Linked DNA regions of Homo sapiens: regions 2 and 3 are each linked to region 1. Evidence: promoter capture Hi-C in 16 types of primary human blood cells and fetal thymus (Javierre and others, 2016). All regions are on one chromosome and are shown on one strand. Each heading gives the region's core, a stretch centred on a gene start or on the middle of the fragment in contact. The rest is flanking DNA. Distances are from core to core; before and after follow the strand shown. Region 1 overlaps GDF11 (growth differentiation factor 11). Region 2 holds the start of ANKRD52 (ankyrin repeat domain 52). Region 3 holds the start of ERBB3 (erb-b2 receptor tyrosine kinase 3).

What was found. The method cuts DNA at HindIII sites, captures the fragments that hold promoters and counts their contacts. A CHiCAGO score of 5 or more calls a contact.
Region 2: a contact is called between the fragment with the promoter of ANKRD52 here and a fragment that was not itself captured in region 1, in 1 of 17 cell types (activated CD4 T cells). The highest score is 5.5, in activated CD4 T cells.
Region 3: a contact is called between the fragment with the promoter of ERBB3 here and a fragment that was not itself captured in region 1, in 1 of 17 cell types (total CD8 T cells). The highest score is 5.9, in total CD8 T cells.

The regions. Positions count from the first base shown.
Region 1 is chr12:55,752,829-55,755,564 of GRCh38, forward strand. It overlaps GDF11 (growth differentiation factor 11), which reads left to right. Exons shown (of 3, transcript NM_005811.5): 3 at 1-2,736. It also overlaps a transcript of SARNP not described here. Among named protein-coding and RNA genes, the nearest start is that of GDF11, 11 kb to the left of the region's middle. The HindIII fragment of the contact is 2,174 bases long and covers 282-2,455 here.
Region 2 is chr12:56,256,978-56,259,713 of GRCh38, forward strand. ANKRD52 (ankyrin repeat domain 52) reads right to left here and starts at 1,407. Exons shown (of 28, transcript NM_173595.4): 1 at 1,266-1,407; 2 at 851-934; 3 at 306-384; 4 at 38-108. The coding sequence starts at 1,292. RefSeq lists enhancers at 1-409, 716-765, 846-895 and silencers at 956-1,025, 1,046-1,595, 1,606-1,665. The HindIII fragment of the contact is 14,479 bases long and covers 1-2,736 here.
Region 3 is chr12:56,078,826-56,081,561 of GRCh38, forward strand. ERBB3 (erb-b2 receptor tyrosine kinase 3) reads left to right here and starts at 1,340. Exons shown (of 28, transcript NM_001982.4): 1 at 1,340-1,557. The coding sequence starts at 1,476. RefSeq lists an enhancer at 997-1,987. The HindIII fragment of the contact is 9,077 bases long and covers 1-2,736 here.

The DNA.
Region 1 (2,736 bases), core at 119-2,618:
CAGCACTTGAACCTGAAAAAAAAAATAAAAGCGGTCAAAGAGTTTAGAATTCAGTGCTGAGCTCTTCTCCCTAATCAAGTGCCACATTTACACCTTGGAGAACCGGAGGTGAAGAGGATCTGAGACAGGAAACCTCGTGTTCAATGACTAAGAAGATGGGGTCCTGGAGCAAGACAGAAAACACTAAGGGCATGGTGGTATAAGGTTTGGGACATGCAGGCCAAGGAAGGATGGAAAGAGGACAGGAAACTGGGGGTACCTAGAACAACCCCTCTCTGAAAAGCTTGAGCCAAAACAGTCCCAAAGACAACAAGACCCCTCTCCCAGCCTCCACAGAATGGAAGATCTAAAGGTTCTCTTGAGATGATCCAGCTAGTATGGAAGATCTAAAGGTTCTCTTGAGATGATCCAGCTAGTGTCCTATTCTCCTGCAGTCCCTGTTCCTAGGTTTCCTCAACGAAGTTTGACAAAAATCTAAACCAACATAGCCAACGAACTTGCCTTGTTACACAAGAGTGGCTAAAATAGCATCTCAAATATTCTTTCAGTTCACTGTAAAAATTTTTCCCATGTACCTAGAGCACAATTCCCCAGGAATATGAGTTGGGAATGGCAAAAGAATATTGCCTGACTCACATTTTTCAAAAATAAGGAAAGCTGGCTGGGCGCAGTGGCTTACATCTGTAATCCCAGCACTTTGGGGGGCCGAGGCGGGCGGATCATGCAAGGTCCGGAGTTCGAGACCATGCTGGCCAACATTGTGAAACCTCATCTCTACTAAAATACCCAAAATTAGCCGGGCGTGGTGGCGTGCGCCTGTAATCCCAGCTACATGGAAGGCTGAGGCAGAAGAATCGCTTGAACCCAGGTGGCGGAGGTTGCAGTGAGCTGAGATCGCACCACTGCACTCTAGCATGGTGACAGAGTGAGACTCCCATCTCCAAAAAAAAAAAAAAAAAAAAAAAAAGGAAAGCAGGACCCAGTGGTGTGCTCCTGTAGTTCCAGCTATTCAGGAGGCTGTGGCAGGAGGACCACTTGAGGCCAGAGGGTCAAGGCTGCAGTGTGCTATAATTGGGCCTGTAAATAGCCACTGTACTCCAAGCTGAGCAACACAGTAAGACACTGTCTCTAAAAATAATTAAAGTAAAATAAAAATAAGGAAAGCTCCTGTGACATCAACCTGATCCAGAATTGGGGACAGCGCTACTGCGGGTTCAATGTACTGCCATGTTTTCCCTGTCTTATCAGTTCTATCAGCACACTGACCCCACTCGAGACCAACTACAAGACTAAGGCTGGAAGTGGTTGAGTAGCAGAAGTGTTATGTATTCTATCTTCCCAAGGGAACCATATCCACATCTACCCCTAACTTTGGCCTGAGCTGAAAATGGGTTTTCTCTCCCTGTGGCTCATTTGTTTCCTATATTGAGAGAACACCCAAAAAAAGACTACTCAAGATGACTTTTTACAAGTCTTTTCTTTATCCTAAAACATCCTCCAACCGAAGGCATGGGAAGCTATCCTATACTCTGACCTTGCCTATATTTTAAATGGCAGGGGCCCCAAGCTAAGAATCAGCAGGCAGTGGCATCTACAGCTTCTGGTCTGTAGTGGCGTAGAAGCAGGAAAATCAATGCTCCAAAGCAACAATGTCCAGCTTTCCTGCCAGTGAGCTGGGCTTGAGGGAGTGAATGGGACTCTTTCTGCCTTTTCTTTTTCTCAAAATACGACTGCATTAACTGGGTGTATGCACACACAAACATGTTCAAACTAGGGCACTCATACCTAGCTAGAACCTACTCAGGGAAAGAAATATGTATTTCCACAGTACCCTGATCACCCAGTAAAAGCTAATATTTATTGAATAATTACTATGCAAATTATGGTAAGCAAATTGTAGTGTGAATACATGATATGAGAATATCACTTAATTCACACAGCAACCTTCACAATGGGGTTCCTTTTGGTACAGTCTGAAAAGAGAATGATTATCTGCGCAGGGTCTCAGAGCTAGTGTGGTAGAATAAGAAATTAAACCTAAGTAGTTGCTAAACAATATTACATTCTAATCTATCCTATTGAAAGTGATCCGGGAGGTAGAAACCTAAATACAGGAATAACATAAGGGAAAGAGATAACAAGAAAGTTAGGGACACCTTGGACTCAAAGAATCTGGAAAGATGTGAAACCTGTAATTTTAAATCCCTTTGGAAGGGAAAAACAAGAAAAGTCTAGATATGGCAAGAGAAGGGGAGGTTAAATTTTGGGGGGATTCCAATAATCAGAAATAAGTGGCATTGCCAGAGGCCCTCATATAAGAGAACAGCAAAAAAGTTATCCTCCCTTAAGTTCCTCCCTCACTCCTCATATCAGACACAGCAAGAGAACTCAGCTCAACACCAAGAAGTCCTGCCCTTATTCACACCTTCCTTCCTATAGCCCTCATCCTCACAGAAGCTTCTAGCCTCTATCTTCAGCAGTTCTTAAGAGGTGGGGTGGGGGGCTGGGCAGTTTAGAGTGAGAGTGGAAAAAAAGAATAATCCTAGAGAACCATAAAAAAGTACAGATTTACAGCTGAGGAAGCTAGTTCTCCCCACAGCTTTTATAGACTCCCTCATTAAGAGCTTCCAGGTATGCAGAGAATGTCACAGCTTCAGGAATTGGAATCAGTTAACCACATCTGGATGCTGGATCAACTATAGTAGGGAAACGGGGAGAGGAAGGAAGGGTACTAAG
Region 2 (2,736 bases), core at 157-2,656, 500 kb after region 1:
CCTTTTTGAAAGGGTAATAGAAGGTGGGGGTGCATACCTCGTTTCGGGAGGCAGCAGCACGATGAAGAGGGGTCAGCCACAGTGTGTCCTTAGCATTGACATTAGCACCTGTGGGGATATAATTTCCTATTTTGATGGAAGGTGGGGAGGAGGTATGAAGGAAGCCAGTAATCAGGCCAGGAAATCTGAATGGAGCTGGAGCCTCGCCTGGACCAAGCCGGGGAGAGCAATCCTTGAATATCAAAAAAGACTCCTCCCCTCCCTTCGCTCCCTATGTGCCACACCTTCCAGCTCCCCACTTTCACCTGACATCAGTAGCAACTGGAGGATGGGGACATCGCCTACGTAGGCAGCAGCATGCAATGGAGTTCGCCTCTCTTGGTCCTGGGAAGGCAAAAAAGAGCAGGGAGTATGGGCGCGGGGTAAGGGGGCTATCAAGGACCCCAGCCCAAGTCTCAGAGCTCCAGGCCCTTCCCCACAACCTCTTCCCATAGTTTCTGCAGCGTCCTAAGTCCCGGTATTGGGAGTCAAAGGCAAGCACCTAGGGAGGGTGGAGTCAGGGCCAATGGGCTGAGAAGCCGGCTCCTTTTTCCAGGAGGGGTGGGGGCGCTGCAGACTCCGGAGGTTGAGAAGAGAACAACGTTCCTGGGCATTCCCAGCCCAAGTGATCTGGGCTTCAAGCCTGACCTGCTCTCCATCCCCAAATGCAGAGTAGGCTTTCACTCCAGGATGGAAAGAACTGCGGCCTCATCTGAGCAGAGGAGACACGGAGCCGCCCCACCGGTGGGGAGGGGTCCAGAACACGGGAGCCAGGATTCCGGTCTCGCCATCCTCCCTGCTCCCAACTCACCAGCACATTGATGTTCTCCTTCTGCGAGAGTAGGGAACGCACTTCCTCCACATCTCGGCTAAAGATGGCCTGGACCAGGGGCGGCTGCAGAGAGAACCGGCATTCTGAGAGCGGGCTGGAGCCGGAGCGGAACCGGTGTGGGGGTGGGGGTGGGGGAGCACCTAGGTTTGAGTGGGGGGCGTCCGTGGAGGGGCTCCACTCTAGGGATTCTGGCTGGAGCGAGCTCCCGCGGTGCCTCCGCCGGTTGCCAGGTCCCCAAGGACACCGGCTCGGTTGAGGGGAGCGCGGCATGGGGCGGGGCGGGAGCTGCGGGAGCCCCGGGCTCAGGCCCAGCCTAGGCCGCACATCCCCGGGCTCGCGTGACGGCAGCGCCGAGCCCTGGAAGGAGGAAGCGGGAAAGGGCAGGAGGGCTGACCTGGTCCGTGATGCTGAGGATCCCCATGGCTCGGCCCGGGCTCCGTCCGCATCGAGCTCCCGGCGGCGGCGGCGGCGGCTCCACCGGGGACACGGAGCGGCCCAGGCGGCGGCTGCGGTGGCGGCTGCAGGGAGAGCGCGGCCCCGCCTACCGGGGGGCGGGCGAGTTGGAGGCCGCAGCGCTCCCTGGCGGCCGTCCTGGTCCCGGCGCTCCCCGCGCAAACGGACCCCGGCCGCAGCGCCCTCCGCCCCACCCTGGCGGCCCCAGCAGCCCCTGCACCCCCGAACTCGCGCGCCGGCTCCCCGGCTCACGCAGCTGGCCGCGCTGTGCTCTCCGCTCCAGTCTGGCGGCCCAAGGGGTTCCCCACAAGACCCTAGCGGAAACCTGGGCCTTAGTCCCGCGGTGCTTCCCAAACTGAGGACCGAACGGCTGGCCAGATCTTACCCAGCCCACAATGCTCCCGCCCGAGCTAACTCCTCCCGTCAGCGATTCCACACCCCGAAATCCCCCACAGACTAGGAGGAACTGGCGGGTGGAGAACTGGGAATTATGTATGGCAATAGCCCCAGAGGGAGGGAAAGCGTGTATCTCCACTGGCGGAGGCGTGAGTTCGGTAGAGAAGAAATAGCAAAAGTGCTCAAACTGCAGAGAAACCCCAAGGAGGATTCTACTGCAGAAAACACCCACAAAGAGGCCATGACAACTGGCAGCTGGAAAAGGCCGCCAAGACCAACAGAAGGGGCATTTTCCAACTCCTTACTGATTCCATTGCAAGGTTAAAGTGGAAAACACTCAACAATTTCTCCCCAGAACAGCCTGTGGCGCTTCCCCTCCTCCAATGGAGAGGCCAGAGAGCCGTCAATTAGAGAAGAAATGAATGGAGGTCATCTCAACCCAGAAACGGAAAAAGGAGGAAGACGAAAAGTGGAGATTGAAAAATTGATACAATTTATAAAAGGTGATCCAGGGTCCTGTTCAGAGTTTCACAACTCAATACACATTGAAGAGAACACGAAATGGACGAAGTGCAGCATGCTGGCGTCCTGTCAAGGCTTTATATATAAAAATCCTCCCTTGAGGGGAGAGGAAAAAAATTAAAAAATAAAAATACATTTTATTTTATTTTTTGAGATGGAGTTTCACTCTCGTCCCCCAGGCTGGAGTGCAGTGGCACGATCTCGGCTCACTGCAACCTCCGCCTCCCGGGTTCAGTGATTATCCTGTCTCAGACTACCAAGTAGCTGAGACTACAGGCGCCCGCCACCCTGCCCGGCTAATTTTTTATTTTAGTAGAGACGGGGGTTTCACCATGTTGGTCAGGCTGGTCTCGAACTCCTGACCTCAGGTGATCCACCTGCCACGGCATCCCAAAGAGCTGGGATTACCGGCGTGAGCCACCGCACCCGGCGAAAATACATTTCAAAAAAGCCTTCCCGGCCGGGCGCGGTGGCTCACGCCTGTAATCCCAGCA
Region 3 (2,736 bases), core at 90-2,589, 330 kb after region 1:
CCCAAAGCGGAGATTCTCCAGTAGAGAACAGGCCCTCTAGGTTGCATATCAATAGGGAGCATGTTTAAGGAATGTTAGCCGGTAGTCTTTGCTAGGTGTGAGGGGTGAAATTTTTCTTTATCAAGGCTCAACTGTTTTCGAAGTCTTCAGGCTTGAAGTTCTGGAGAAAACAACTAGGCTCTCCGGGCGAGATCCCGAATACCAGTTTAAGGGATTTGAAATGCAAGGCCGTCTGGGACTCCACTGCCACGGATGGGCACCAGGCGGCGCCGGTCGGATCCGTCCCGGGACTAGCAGGGCTTTGGGCAGCAACCCGCAGGGAGCCCGACCGCCTCTGGCCAGGTCCGGGCAGCTGGTGGGGGAGGTTCCAGAGGTCCACGCCATTCGTGGACGCAGTCTCTAGTGTCCTCTCCGCGTCCCACTTCACTGCCCCATCCCCTTTCCTGCGAGAGCCTGGACTTGGAAGGCACCTGGGAGGGTGTAAGCGCCTTGGTGTGTGCCCATCTGGGTCCCCAGAAGAGCGGCGGGAACTGCGGCCGCCCGGACGGTGCGGCCAGACTCCAGTGTGGAAGGGGAGGCAGCTGTTCTCCCAGGCGGCCGTGGGGGGCAGCAGAGGGGACGGCGACAGGTGCGGGAGCCCCTCCCGGGGTAGAAGTGGAAAGGCGGGCTCCGGGGTCTGTTCCCAGGCTGGAAACCACCCCCGCCCCCCATCCAAATCCCCGGGAGAGGCCCGGCCGGCGCCGGGTCTGGAGGAGGAAGCGGCCAGAGACAGTGCAATTTCACGCGGTCTCTGTGGCTCGGGTTCCTGGGCTGGGTGGATGAATTATGGGGTTTCGAGTCTGGGAGAAACTGAGGTGGCCTGGACGTGAGGCAAAAAACACCCTCCCCCTCAAAAACACACAGAGAGAAATATTCACATTCTGAGAGAAAATCCACCAAGTGAACCAACCGGCTAGGGGAGTTGAGTGATTTGGTTAATGGGCGAGGCCAACTTTCAGGGGGCAGGGCTTTGGAGAGCTTTCCACTCCCTCATTCATTACCCTTCCCTGGATCTGGGGGCTTTCGGAATCTCGACCTCCCCTTGGCCTATCTCCTGCAGAAAAATTAGGGTGAGCCCCATCCTCGATCTGCTCCGCCAAGTTGCGGGACCGCGGGGCGTGGCACGCTCGGGGCAGGCGGTCCGAGGCTCCGCAATCCCTACTCCAGCCTCGCGCGGGAGGGGGCGCGGCCGTGACTCACCCCCTTCCCTCTGCGTTCCTCCCTCCCTCTCTCTCTCTCTCTCACACACACACACCCCTCCCCTGCCATCCCTCCCCGGACTCCGGCTCCGGCTCCGATTGCAATTTGCAACCTCCGCTGCCGTCGCCGCAGCAGCCACCAATTCGCCAGCGGTTCAGGTGGCTCTTGCCTCGATGTCCTAGCCTAGGGGCCCCCGGGCCGGACTTGGCTGGGCTCCCTTCACCCTCTGCGGAGTCATGAGGGCGAACGACGCTCTGCAGGTGCTGGGCTTGCTTTTCAGCCTGGCCCGGGGCTCCGAGGTGGGCAACTCTCAGGCAGGTAAGTGGCGCGAGAGCACCGGCGGGCTCGGCACCTGGGAGCCGGAACCCAGTGCGCGCAGCCTCGGAGGGTATGGGCACGGTCTCAGGCGGCGCGGGGTTGTGGGTGCTGCCCCCGGTTTGCCAGGACCACCTGGGAGAGGGGCGGTCAGGCTCGGGTTATCGGCGTGGTCCGGCCGAGGGCGGCATTCCGGGACCCTCACGCCACCCTTCTCCAGAGCGTCGCCGACCCTCTAATTGGTCTCCCCAGAAGAGGCTGAGGCCGAAACAGTAGTTCACACTTCTGAGGGGCCCTGCAGGGAGGGGAGCAGGGAACTTCATTCTGTAAACAGGAGGTGCTTGGAGGTGGGGGCCTTGGCGGGAAGGGTCTCGGTTTGCTCGCCAACCCCCTGCCCCCCACCCGCGCCGATTTCAGCTACCCCTAGTTTCGTTGTTTTGCCGACAGGGCGGAGCTACAGAAGGTTGGAGGGGGTTGTTGTTCTCTGGTGTTGGAAAAACAGGAGCGGCACCTCCTCTTCCGTGAGTGAGCCTGCCCTGGGGAGGTCTGAGATTAACCAGAGGGCCAAGTTCAGGTGACATCAGGCAGGAGGCCCAACAGAGGCTGGCGCCCCCTTTCCTCAGTATAGCAGAGCTTAAGCAACATCTCTTTGTCAAGACCCAGGTCAACACAACTCATATTTATTGAGCATCTACTATACACAAGGCCCTGGGCCAGGAGCTGTAAGGGCAAGGATGTCCAGCCTCTGGTCTTTTCTCTCCCCAACCTGAGGATCAAGAGGGCACCTCTGCTACTTTCTAAGCCTCCTGCCTTGGGGAGTCCTTCCTGGGCTCAGCTTGTGCCTCCCGCCCCCATTTTGCTTATTGTCTGACACTGTCTCTAGGACCCTAGACAGAGCCCCGGATTGCTCTTCTCCAGTCCTCCCCCGACTCCCATGCTATCTGAGCCCACCCCTTTGGGGTGTCTCTGGGACCGTGGACACCTGAGGACTGAAGTTCTGTGGATCTCCTCCCCTCCCCTCAGATCTCAGCTTGGGGTTTGGCACAGCCAGGGCCCCTTCCCCAGTGTGGGAGTGGAAGAAACCACCTGTGCTTCCCTCACAGTTGCTGGGCCTAAATTTAGATCCTGGGATTTTTAGATGTGAACACTCCCAGCTGGTGGAGGGGGGTGGTCTGGGGACTG